Regions from separate parts of the Homo sapiens genome. Here all the other regions are linked to region 2. Evidence: promoter capture Hi-C in human tissues and cell types (Jung and others, 2019). All regions are on one chromosome and are shown on one strand. The core of a region is centred on a gene start or on the middle of the fragment in contact, and the rest is flanking DNA. Distances in the headings are between cores, read along the strand shown. Region 1 has its middle 210 kb from the start of ADAM18. Region 2 holds the start of ADAM2 (ADAM metallopeptidase domain 2). Region 3 has its middle 31 kb from the start of ADAM18.

Region 1 (4,302 bases), core at 1,382-3,881, 460 kb before region 2:
GAAATAAGGCCAAATACTTACAGCCAACTGAACTTCAACAAAGCAAACAAAAACATAAAGTGTGGAAAGGACACCCTATTCAACAAATGGTGCTGGGATAATTGGCAAGCCACATGTGGAAGAATGAAACTGGATCCTCATCACTCACCTTGTACAAAAATCAATCAAGATGAATTAAAGACTTAAATTTAACATCATCTGAACGATAAAATTCTAGGAGATAACATGGTAAAAACTCTTCTAGACATTGGCCTAGGCAAAGACTTCATGACTGAGGACCGAAAATCAAATGCAACTAAAACAAAGATAAATAGATGGGACTTAATTAAAAAGCTTCTGCACAGCAAAAGAAATGATCAGCAGAGTAAACAGGCAACACACAGGGTAGAAGAAAATCTTCACAAACTGTGCATCAGACAAAGGACCAATATCCAGAATCTACAAGGAATGCAAACAAATCAGCAAGAAAAACAACAGCAACAAATAATCCTATCAAAAAGTGGGCTAAGGGCATGAATAGACAATTCTCAAAAGAAGATATACAAATGACCAACAAACATATGAAAAAATGCTCAACATCACTAATTATCAGGGAATTGAGAATCAAAGCCACAATGTGATACCACCTTACTCCTGCAAGAATGGCCATAATTAAAACTTTTTTAAAAAAAATATGTTGGTGTGGATGTGGTGAAAAGGGAAAACTTTTACACTGCTGGTGGGAATGTGAACTAGTACAACCACTGTGGAAAGGACTATGGACATTCCTTAAATAACCAAAAGTAGATCCGCCATTTGATCCAGCAATCCCACTGGGGGCATCTACCCAGAGGAAAATAAATCATTATATGAAAAAGACGCTTGCTTATGCATGTTTATAGCAGCAGAATTCACAATTGCAAAAATATGGAACCAGTCTAAATGACTATCAACCAACAAGTGGACAAAGAACCAACAAGTGGATAAAGAATTTGTGGTATATATGTATGTGTATATATATTTGTGTGTATATATGTATATATATGTGTATATATATGTATGTGTATATATGTGTATACATGTATGTGTATATATGTATGTATATATGTATATATGTATGTATATATATGCATATATATGTGTATATGTGTATATATAGTGTATATATGTGTATATATACACACATATACATATATAGTGTATATATGTGTAAATATATACACATATATACATATACACATATACACATATATACATATACTCATATATATACACTATATATACACATATATACACACACATATATACACGTATATATACACATATATATATACACATACATATATACACATACACATATACAATGGAATACTACTCTGCCATAAAAAGGAATGAAATAATGGCATTTGCAGTAACCTGGATGGAATTGGAGACTGTTATTCTAAGTGAAGTAACTCAAGAATGGAAAACCAAACATCGTATGTTCTCACTTATAAGTGGGAGCTAAGCTATAAGGATACAAAGGCATAAGAGTAATATAATGGACTCTGGAGATGCGTGGGAAGGTATGGGAGTGGGGTGAGGGATAAAAGACTACACACTGGGTGCAGTGTACACTGCTTGGGTCATGGGTGCAACAAAATTTCAGAAATCACACCTAACGAACTTATCCATGTAGCCAAACCCCACCTGTTCTCCCAAACGATTGAAATAATTAATAATAATAAAGGTGAGATCCAGAACAAAAAAAGATGAGCCCATGAGGTGCACTTCTTGAGCAACACAATTCAATTTATTTAATTTTACCTCAATGATTGTGAAAATATAGTTTTTCAATATTCTAAAGTCACGACTCTCATATACCTACAAAGTAAAAATATTTTTAAAAGAATTTTCTCTGCCTCTCAATGAAGGAGCCAGTAGGATGATAAAGCTTGATTCAAAGAGTACTTGAGGAAGTGAGTGTTCACAGGTATTTTTAAAAATGTTAGAGTAGGCTGGGGGCAGTGGCTCATGCCTGTAATCCCAGTACTTTGGGAGGCCGAGGCGCGCGGATCATGAGGTCAGGAGATCGAGACCATCCTGGCTAACACGGTGAAACCCTGTCTCTACTAAAAAATACAACAAAAATTAGCCAGGCGTGGTGGTGTGCGCCTGTAGTCCCAGCTACTCGGGAGGCTGAGGCAGGAGAATGGCATGAACCCGGGAGGCGGAGCTTGCAGTGAGCCGAGATCTCGCCACTGCACTCCAGCCTGGGTGACAGAGCAAGACTCCGTCTCAAAAAAAAAAAAAAAAAAAAGTTAGAATCAAAGTACGATTGCCTTTTATACCAGTTCGTAAAAGGAAACAAATTCTGAAGAAACAAGTGTTGATACTTTCTCATTATACATATGCAAATTTTCCTCTATAAATACTTTGAACAATTAGTTTTGAATTAAATGTTGACTCTGTAAGCTTGAGTGACAGTAGATATTGTATTTGTCTTCTCATGCATCACCTGGAAAATTTGTGTGAGACTTTTTACAGATAGCAAATACTTGAAAACTTAAGAAAAAGTTGGCGAAAAACAATTTTGAGAAGATAAATGTTATATAAGCTGGGCCTTCAGGACCTTTGAAAGCTAGGAAAATTTTTATTTACTTTGCATAGGATAATGACAATAGCCATAAGAGACTGGGGCATGTGTTGAAGAAAGAAGAGTTTTCAGAGATGATGATTAGATGCTTCTTAGCAAAAGTAAATTTGTAGAAAGGGAAGCCCAGAAGCAGATCAGAAATATGTAATTATGGAAGTTATTTTTAAGTTTTTTGCAACATGAAATTTGAAATAAATATGAAATAAACTTTCTCCTGCGTGTTCTTAGAATATCTTCATCATTTGTGTGATTAAATTTCTTGTGCATAAAAAAATGGGTAATGCTTATAAGAGAAGCTAGAAACTCAAAGATAAGCAGACATCCATAAAGGAAAGAAAGGCAAAGTGGAGCTAGGGATATAAAAATTACTTGTAATCCATTTTGGCTCTGCTCAGTTGGGCAGTTTCTGGTTTCTCCATATTAATCTTAAAGAAGAAATCAGCAGCCATTTATAAAATGATAAATCCTCATCATAAACATTTTAAAAATGTTGCAGGCTTTAAAAGGAGATATTTTAAGAATCCTGTGTGATGCTTAAATAGTTAACAAGAAGATTTAATTTTCTAATTGCTATTAGAAACTTAGGGAAAAAAATGGACCAGCATATAGAGCCTACACAGAAATAAAACTTAAATAGCATTGATATTTAAAGTTTTATGTTTCTCTTTCCTCCTAGTTCAAACCGGCTAATATGATTTGTAGGAAATCAGTTGGTAAAGAATGCGATTTCACTGAATATTGCAATGGGGACCTTCCATACTGTTTGCCTGACACTTATGTACGTGATGGAGAATATTGTGATTCAGGTGGAGCCTTCTGTTTTCAAGGAAAGTGTCGGACTTTTGACAAACAATGTGATGATTTAATTGGAAGAGGTAATAATCATAATTTTCTTCTTAGTCCCTAAATTCTGATTATTCCAAACTCTGTTATTGAATTTTATGGAACAAAAATGTAAATGTATGTGTTAATGACTGAATTCTTGCATAATGTATATTAGTGTTAAAGAAAAAACAAAATTATCTTTTCTTTTTCTTTTTTGAGACGGAGTTTCTCTCTGTCGCCCAGGCTGGAGTGCAGTGGCCTGATCTCAGCTCACTGTAACCTCCGCCTCTTTGGTCCAAGCGATCCTCCTGGGTTCAAGCGATCCTCCTGCCGCAGCCTACGGAGTAGCTGGGATAACAGGAGCACACTGTCATGGGTGGTTAAGTTTGTGTTTTTAGTAGAGACAGTGTTTCACCATGTTGGCCAGGCTTGTCTCAAACTCCTAGCTTCAAGTGATCTGCCCACATCGTGCTCCCAAAGTGCTGGGATTACAGGCACGAGCCACTGCGCCTGGCGCAAAAACAAAATTTTCATGATTGTGAAATACAACAACAAAAAACCTCTCTGAATTTATATGGAATTTCTGTAGGAACAGAAAATAAACCTCAAGTGAAAATGCAGTTTTTCAAAATATTATATAGAATTTGTGGTGGGGGTTTAGTTTAAAGGAAACAAGGTTTCTTAATCAGAGGAAAGCAGGGCTAATCACTGATTAGTTGGGTTTCTAAGCGCTTGCTGAAAAGTGAGGGCTTCAGTTCATTAGCAATCTAGTCCATTTTGATAATTTCCTATAAATGTCATTTGCTTGATTGGAAGATACAAATTCCTGAACGTATGCAGTGCATGTTCTCCGAGAGAGTGAA
Region 2 (4,307 bases), core at 414-2,913:
AAACCACATTCCACTTCAGAAATGGATTCTAGAACTTAGTGAAAATGATAAGAAGATTTTAAATTCAAATTTTAAAAAGAGAGTAATAATTCTGAACTAAAATAATCTAAAATAGCATGAAAGAAAGAGTTCTAATCATTAACATATTCGCAATCAGGGCTAAAAAAATCATTAATATAACACATCATTAATTCAAGTGATCATCATCCCATATAAGCAAGCCAAGGCTTACTTAGCAACAATGACAAAAAATTCCTCCAAATACAGCCTGAACGGTGAGTGAGAACAGAATCTCTAGAACAATCAAGCCAATGATTATTCAAAGACATCCAAGAGGAAGACAGATTCAGAAAATGGACTTGGGGCTTTGATAACCAGCATCACTGCACCATTATTTCTGTGAAACATTGTTGATCCTGGTTCATTTTCAAAAGGGCTTTTCCATTCAGGGAAAATTTGGTATAAATATAAAATTCAACAGGTGTGCATGAATGAAAAATGGCAGATTAACTTCTTAGAAACAAAATCTTTACATCATTTTAAATTTGTAAATACTGTTAGTGATTCATTACCTGCGATTCAATTCCTTCCTTTATTATTGACCGTATTTTCTCCGGAACTGTAATTTGCACAGGTAAACTATCAAAATCTGCAAAATGTGCAAAATGTTTTATTAGAACAATGCCCATCATTTCAGAGCGTGTTTTATGAGTTTTTCATCTAAATCTCTAATCTCTATTCTATACGCTGCTTCTCATTTTTATTATCTTCCCATTTCTTTCTAAAAATACAAGGAGGTTTTTTTTTCTGTTTTTCTGTTTTTTTTTTTGTTTTTGAGACGAAGTCTCACTCTGTCGCCCAGGCCCAGGCTGGAGTGCAGTGGTGAGATCTCTGCTCACTGCAACCTCCGCCTCCCGGTTTCAAGCGATTCCCCTGCCTCAGCCTCCCCAGCAGCTGGGACTACAGGCACGCACTACCACCCCCAGCTAATTTTCTATATTTTTAGTAGAGGGGGATTTCACCATGTTGGCCGGGATGGTCTCGATCTCCTGACCTCGTGATACGCCTTCCTCAGCCTCCCAAAGTGCTGGGATTACAGGCATGAGCCACCGTGCCCGGCCATATTTTTTTAAAAAAGAAGTAGGTGTATTGCTTTAGGAGTATTGCCCTGTAGGTAGGATCTGGTAACCTTGGGTCAATAGGTTCAAGCCCCTCAGGACAAATTAACTCACTCTGGACTCTTCAACTAGAGAGTACAGAAGTTGGGTCTCAACTTTCACTGTCGTGAAAAATGCAAAGCAGGATCTGAAACTACAATTTTGAAGCAACCTCTTAAGGCCTAGGACCTCCTATCTTATCTTTCCTAGGTTTCCAGGACGTGTGGGAAAGCCCTTATTCTACGTGGATTTTGGGTGGGGAAGGCGGCAATGTCGGGGATGAGCTTGGAATTGCTGAGTTGGAAACCCCTCAGGAAAGCATCCTCCCAGGGATGTCAATGTAACTTGGAGGCAAAGGGAGAGTAGCGCTGAGGGTCCCAAAAGGCCAGAGGAGGGGTTTTTCTGCTTACTACTGTCCATCCGCAGCCCGCCGAGCCCGCTGAGCAGAAACAAGACGCGCCACATGGCTTGAAGTCCTGGGTCCCAGCCGGAATAATGGCAGTTGGTGGTTACAGGGCAGTTGGAAGCGCGAGATGACGCCCCGGCCACGCAGCCTGGAAGAGGTAGGCGGCTGGGAGAGCCCAGGTGGGCTGAGGTTGGGTGTGGTGCGCTGTGGAACGTGCGAGCTCCTGAGCCCTGTCTCTTGCAGGACAAGCACTCCACTGGACGTGATGCCTAATTAAGGCAACAGCAACAACAAAATCACTTCCAACAGCTGAGGAACAGGAAGATTTATAAACACTTCTTAAGTAAAATTTCAATTGAATATATATAAACACGTATCAGGAGTTCGAGACCAGTTTCCGCAACATGGTGAAACCCCGTCTGTACTAAAAATACAAAAAAAAATTAGCCAGGCATGGTGGCGGGTGCCTGAAATCCCAGCTACTCGGGAAGCTGAGGCAGGAGAATCGCTTGAACCTAGGAGGCAGAGGTTGCAGTGAGCAGAAAGACCTTACCACTGCACTCCAGCCTGGGTGAGAGAGCGAAATTCCGTCAAAAAAAAAAAAAAAAAAAAAAAAAAGAACGAAACAAAAAACGAAAAAAAGTATATAATAAATCATAAGTTCACAGGTCAATTAATATTCAAGTGGAAAAAAAAAACAGCGTAACTAGTACCACGATGAAGAAATGAAAAAGAACCACCCAAATCCCCAGATTCCAACCTCACAACCATGACTTCTAAACAACCAAAGATTCGTTTTGTCTGTTTTTGAACTTTTCGCAAGTAGAAGCAATCACCATCTACTCTTTCATGTCTGGGTTCTTTTAATAGGATGATTGTAAGGTTCATACAAAGCAATAGTTCTGTTTTATCCTCATTGGTGTATATTACAAATTCATTAAATATAACACCACTTGTGTTTCCATTTTACTGTTAATGAATATTTTGTTTGTTTATTGTTCCAGCTATTAAAAATAATATTTAGCTATAAACATTCTTCTACATGCCTTTTGGTGTAATAAGTAAGGATTTCTACTGTGTATATTTCTAGAGTGAAGTTGTCGGATCACAGGGTATGTGTTGGTAGATACTTCCGACAAGTTTTCCAAGACTGTACTAATTTATACTCTCACCAGAAGTATATGAAAATTCCACTTCGTACACATCAATGCCTTGTTGTGTTGTTGTGTTGTCTGTAATGTTCCTTCATTGTAATGAACTTACCAACTTTTATATCAAGACATGCTGCCCTCATAAAAGAAATTAAGAAATGTTATCTCTTCGTTTAATCTTTGAAATAGTGTAATGCTGTGAATATTTATTCTTTTAATGTTTCTTAGCATTTAGAAATGGAGTGATTATGACCTGGAGTTTTCTTCATGAGAAGATTTATTTACTTTTTTATCTAATTTCTTTAAAATATTCATATTTTTTTCTTTTCGTGTTGGTTTGAGAAAGTTATGTTTCTGAAGGAATTTGTCCATTTCTTTGGGGTTGTTAAATTATTGACAAAAGTTGTTCATAATGACTTCCTCTCCTCTAGCAACTTTTTAAGGTCTATAGCACCTGCAGACATATCTCTTCTTCCATTCTCAATGTTGATAATTTGTGATGTTTCTCTTTATACTGGGTAAATAGGTCTTGGAATGTATAATTTTTATTAAGTTTTACAGGAACTCGGTTTTGGATTTCTTTATTTTTTTCTGTTGTATGTTTTCTGCTTTGTTGATTTTGTTCTTGGGTTCTTTTCCTTTTTTCTACTTTGGGCATAATGTTCCTTTTCTAGCTTCTAAGATTGGAAGTTTATATTATTTATTTTAAACATTTCTTCTTTTAACCTATGCCTTTAAACTACAAATTTCCATGTATTTCCAAATTTCTATCTATTCATTGCTTTAACTTCACCATTGTATTCTTATACTTTATTTTGATATACTTTACTTTCATTAATATTCAATTCTAAATGTTTTCTAATTTTCATCATGATTTCTTTTTGCCCCACATGTTTATTGGTGTTATTTAAATGCCACATATTTAAGCATGTATTAATTACTTTTTTATTGATGTCTAACTCAATTCCATTGTGATCATAGATTGTATTTTGAATAATTTCAAGTCATTGCAATTCACTAAGAGAAAATTCATTGCCCATTATATGGTTCATTACATTGAATGTTTCGAACTTTAAAAGAATGCAAACTTTAAAAGAATGCAGACTATTTAGCTGTGGATTATATTATTCTTTAAATGTCAACTAGATCAAGTTGGATAATACATTTTCAAATATTTTATATCCTTATTAATTCTTGTTCTTTTATTATGTCCAACTAAGAATACTTTTCTATTTTTCCTTTGTGTTTTATCAATTTTTAATTATCATATTTTGAAGATAAGTTATTTTTTTAAAACTCATTTAGGGAGGTTTTGTCTTCCTGATGAAGTGAACTTATGTCATTATAATGTCACTCTTTGCCCATACTGGCTTTTTGCCATTAAGCTTATTTTATCTATCACTTCCATAGCCAGATTTTTAAAAAAATAATTAGAATCTGCTTGGGATATTTTAAAAAAATATTTCACTTTAAAGGCATATCCTTAAAGTTTGTGTGTGTGTGTTTGTGTATAAATAACATACAGATTTTTAAATTCAGTATGATGAACCTGACTTTAATTGAAGTATTAGGTCCATTTCCTTACAGTAATTA
Region 3 (4,330 bases), core at 1,509-4,008, 280 kb before region 2:
AACGTTTTTCAAATTTATTAGAATTTAATTTCAAGTGTCATAAAACATATTGTGGCATTAATCTTATTTTATTATGACAATACTATTTAGATTAAAAATGCTACTATTCAAAAAATTAACATATTTTTGTTTTTTATTTCTAAGAAAGTAATTAGCTTTGGTATACCAGTTTCTTAAATTTGTATTTGCATATGGTAGTATGGCCAGAATTGCTTGACAAGATCAATGAGGTAAGTCAATTTTGATGTTTTTCTTTGTTTCTTTTTTTAGTATTCAAAGACAGTAACTTTAGAGGGATTTTCAGTTGTTATGACACAGTTGCTTGGAATTAATCTGGGATTGACATATGATGACATCTACAACTGTAACTGTCCAGGAGCTACATGCGTAATGAATTCTAAGGCAATGTAAGGTTTTTTTTTTTAATCAAATATATGTCTTCTCTTGGAAAATGTAGGCATTATTCCTTGATGTGTGATTTTTGCATTGTAACTTGAGTAAGAATGTTATTAAATATATATGTGCTTATTTAAGACTTTACAAGTTTGACTATGGGATTTTGTAGAAACCATGTTTAATAGTATTGCATTCAACATTATAGTATATATAGAGAGCAGATGTTGATGATTGTATACTTGGGTTTACTAAAGTTTATTGGAGCTGTTGAAAAATTTTTCAAGCCCAGCAAGTAAAACGGTTATTGGCTAGCAAGAAGCTTGAAAAGCTTAATAGACCTGGAATAAGGAGATTGCAGTAGGTAAAATGTTTTTAAAAAGTAGAAAGGCTGGCACTGTAAATAGGAATATTCTAGACATAGTGAAAATAAAGTGAAATACCATCAGGCCGAATAACTTTGAGTCAGGGGAAGAAACCCAGGGGTTAATATAAGAAATGAAGGAAAGCACCTGATCATGCAATCATGATACAGGGATTTGAATTTCATTTTACACACATGCACACACACACACATAAACACACACACATACATTTTAATCAATTTATTCAGTATGGGTAATAAAAAATATCTCATAAAATCAATGTAAAATAAATCAAAGGGAAAAACAATAATAATATTTGGGAGGTGGTAATTTTCATAATAATCTATAGTGGTTTATAATGATTTAGATAAAGGGAGATGCCAAGAATTATCCATAGGTTTTCATATATTATAACTTATTAACAAATATTTTAAGAGGTCATTAATTTAGGAAACGAGAATAGTGAGGGTAAATCTTGACGACGTTTTATATACATTGTATCTGGGGTATTTTAAGTAATTCACTGGAGCTGTTAACACAGAATGAGTTATATAGTTCCAGATCTCAGAGAACAAGCGATATAAAATGTACAAGCCATCAGTATATGAGTAACAATTAAAACCACAGACAGATCATTTAGAAAGAAGTTATCAAGTTAAAAGAGGTATCTTAGAGAAAGCTTTGAAAATTGCTTATATTTATAGGCTAAAAATTGAGGGAAAGTCAGTAATATGAAGGATCAGAAAGAAAGAAAATATTAGGACAACAACCATGTTAAGGTGTAATTTTACCTAGAGTGGAATCAGATCACAAGTTCAGGAGATCGAGACCATCCTGGCTAACGTGGTGAAACCCCATCTCTACTAAAAATACAAAAAATTAACCAGGCATGGTGGTGGGCACTTGTGGTCCCAGCTACTCGGGAGGCTGAGGCAGGAGAATGGCGTGAACCCAGGAGGCAAAGCTTGCAATGAGCCGAGATTGCACCACTGCACTCCAGCCTGGGCATCAGAGCAAGACTCCATCTCAAAAAAAAAAAAAAAAAAAAAAAAAAGAATAAAGGAAGGGTTGGGAGCCAAGTGGTAAAAACATCAGGATGTAGTTTAGTGTCTCCAAATTATCTTATAAAATAGAAAGAAAAACTATAAAAACATATGTATATACATACAAACACATAGAGACACACAGACACACAAAAGCATATGCAAGTTCCCCAAAACCAGAACACACAGAATACCAGCAGGTGGGGCCAATCAACTGCCAAAATAAAACCTGCATTTAATAAGTAGTGGTGTGGGAGGAAATGGAATACAATGGGGACCTAAAAATCATACAGACTGGGAACTCAGAAATTTTGGACTAATAAAAACCTCAAAAATTTTTTGTTCCCATGAAGAATGTTTATTTGTAAGTTCATAGCATTATAGGAGCTGAAATTGGTGGAGATTTTGCAAATTGTGGGTGAGAGGAAAAGAGCTATTAACATTACTTAAGATGCTGATATGGTCTCGATCTCTGTCCAGAAAAAATCTGGTAAAAATGAGCAAATGTCTCATCCAGATTACACTTTTTCAATATTATTTTCCACTAAAAGAAATATGGATATCTTGAAGAAATGACTGGTTCCAAGGCTCAGGCAGAGAAAATTAAAAATTAGCCTGGAATGCCTTCTATAAAAAATAAGGAGATTCACAAAGTATCATGGAGATAACACAAAGGCCAGTTAGAAAGGGCTCCAACAGGCCAAAACTGGGACAATTCGAATGTCAAAGATTATAATGGTACTAATGGATTACAACCCATTGAGTAAAATATGAAAACATGATTCCAAACTGATATAAATACATTAATGTATTTAAAATATAATTAGAAATGGATTGTTTACATAAAACCAAAGGGTTTCTCTCCAAGGAATTATCAACAGACAAAGGAAAAAAAAGTAATTTTCCAGGGAATACTGGCATGGACACCTTAATCAACTGATCAAAGTGACTATTCTCAGTAATATAACAAATCGAGATTGTTCACAACTTTTTGTATTGCAATGAAACAAACAAAGCAACACTGCTATAATAATATTGTAAAGATGCATAACCTCAGTCTAATCATAAAAATATATTTTATAAACCTAAATTAAGGTAATTTCTACCCCAAAATTGGCCTGTAATCATCAAACTTATCAAAATCATGAAAATCAATCAAAAAAAAAATCTTAGGAATGTAAGGTAAGGAGATGTGAGAACTAAACGTGATGTTTGATTCTGAACTGCATCATTTTGCTACAAAATGCCAATATTGTGATGTATATAAATGTTTGTACCACACCATTATTTCCTGATTTTGAAGGGTCTGCTGTGCCTATGTAGGAAAATTCAAATTTATGTAAGATCTATATATTAAAATATTGACATAGTTTGCACCTGTGTCCCAACCCAAATCTCATATTGAAATGTAATCCCCCAATGTTGGAGGTGGAGCCTTGTGGGAGGTGATTGGATCATGGGGGCATATTTTTCATGAATGGTTTAGCACTATTCTCCTTGGTACAGTTCTAACACTAGGGAGTGTGTTCTCATGAGATCTGGTCATTTAAAAGTATGTAGCACCCCACCCCTTGCTCTCTTGCTCCTGCTTTCACCATGTGATGTGACTGCTTCCCCTTTGCCTTCCGCCATAATTGGAAGCATCCTGAAGTCTCCCCAGAAACAGATACTGCTATGCTTCCTGTACCGCCTGCAGAACCATGAGCCTATTAAACCTATTTTCTTATGAATTACCCAGTCTCAGGTATTTTTTTATAGCAATTCAAGAATGGCCAAATACAGAAAATTGGTACCAGAGGTGAGGTATTGCTGTAAAGATACCTGAAAATGTTGACGTGACTTTGGAATTGAGTAACAAGTAAAGGCTGGAAGAGTTTGGAGGACTATGAAAAATACAGGAATATGAGGGAAAGTTTGGAACTTCATTTAGAGACTGATTAAATGCTTGTGGCCAAAATGCTGATAGTGATATGGACAATGAAGTCTAGACTGAGGTGGTCTCAGATGGAAATGAGGAACTTATTGGGACCTGGATCAATTGTCACAAATTTTATGCCTCATCAAAGAGCTTGGCTGCATTCTGTTCATGTCTTAGGGATCTGTGGAAGTTGAATTAAAGAGTGATGATTTATAATAACTGGTAGAAGAAATTTCTAGGAAGCAGTATTTAAGTTTGGCTTGGCTGCTTCTAACAGCCTATGTTCATACACAAGAGAAAAGAAATGACTTAAAGCTGGAACCTTATTTAAAAGAAAAGCAGAGCATCAAAGTTTGGAAAATTTACAGCCTAACCAGGAGAAAAATTCAAGGAGGCTTCTGAGTAACCCAAAGTGTAAGACAGGAAGTTTTTATTGCTCTCTTTTACTATTGATCGTAAGTACAAAAAACTTTCTGTTTTTCTTTTCTGTCTACTCTCTAACAGGCCAGTTTCAATAAAGCTTGTATTAAATTTAAGGATTTGATGCAATTTTTAAAAATACATTTCCTGCTTACTAATAGACACAACCCTAAGTTCAAAGATAAAAAAGA

The links. Contacts are between HindIII fragments. The study calls those that stand out against the background at their distance.
Region 1: a contact is called between a fragment that was not itself captured here and the fragment with the promoter of ADAM2 in region 2, in 1 of the 25 tissues and cell types used here (dorsolateral prefrontal cortex).
Region 3: a contact is called between a fragment that was not itself captured here and the fragment with the promoter of ADAM2 in region 2, in 1 of the 25 tissues and cell types used here (H1 embryonic stem cells).

Annotation. Positions count from the first base shown.
Region 1 is chr8:39,372,389-39,376,690 of GRCh38, forward strand. It overlaps the pseudogene ADAM5. Among named protein-coding and RNA genes, the nearest start is that of ADAM18, 210 kb to the right of the region's middle. The HindIII fragment of the contact is 3,018 bases long and covers 1,123-4,140 here.
Region 2 is chr8:39,836,564-39,840,870 of GRCh38, forward strand. It overlaps ADAM2 (ADAM metallopeptidase domain 2), which reads right to left and starts at 1,664. Exons shown (of 21, transcript NM_001464.5): 1 at 1,568-1,664; 2 at 573-649. The coding sequence starts at 1,622. The HindIII fragment of the contact is 9,732 bases long and covers 1-4,307 here.
Region 3 is chr8:39,551,628-39,555,957 of GRCh38, forward strand. No RefSeq gene overlaps it. Among named protein-coding and RNA genes, the nearest start is that of ADAM18, 31 kb to the right of the region's middle. The HindIII fragment of the contact is 3,357 bases long and covers 1,081-4,330 here.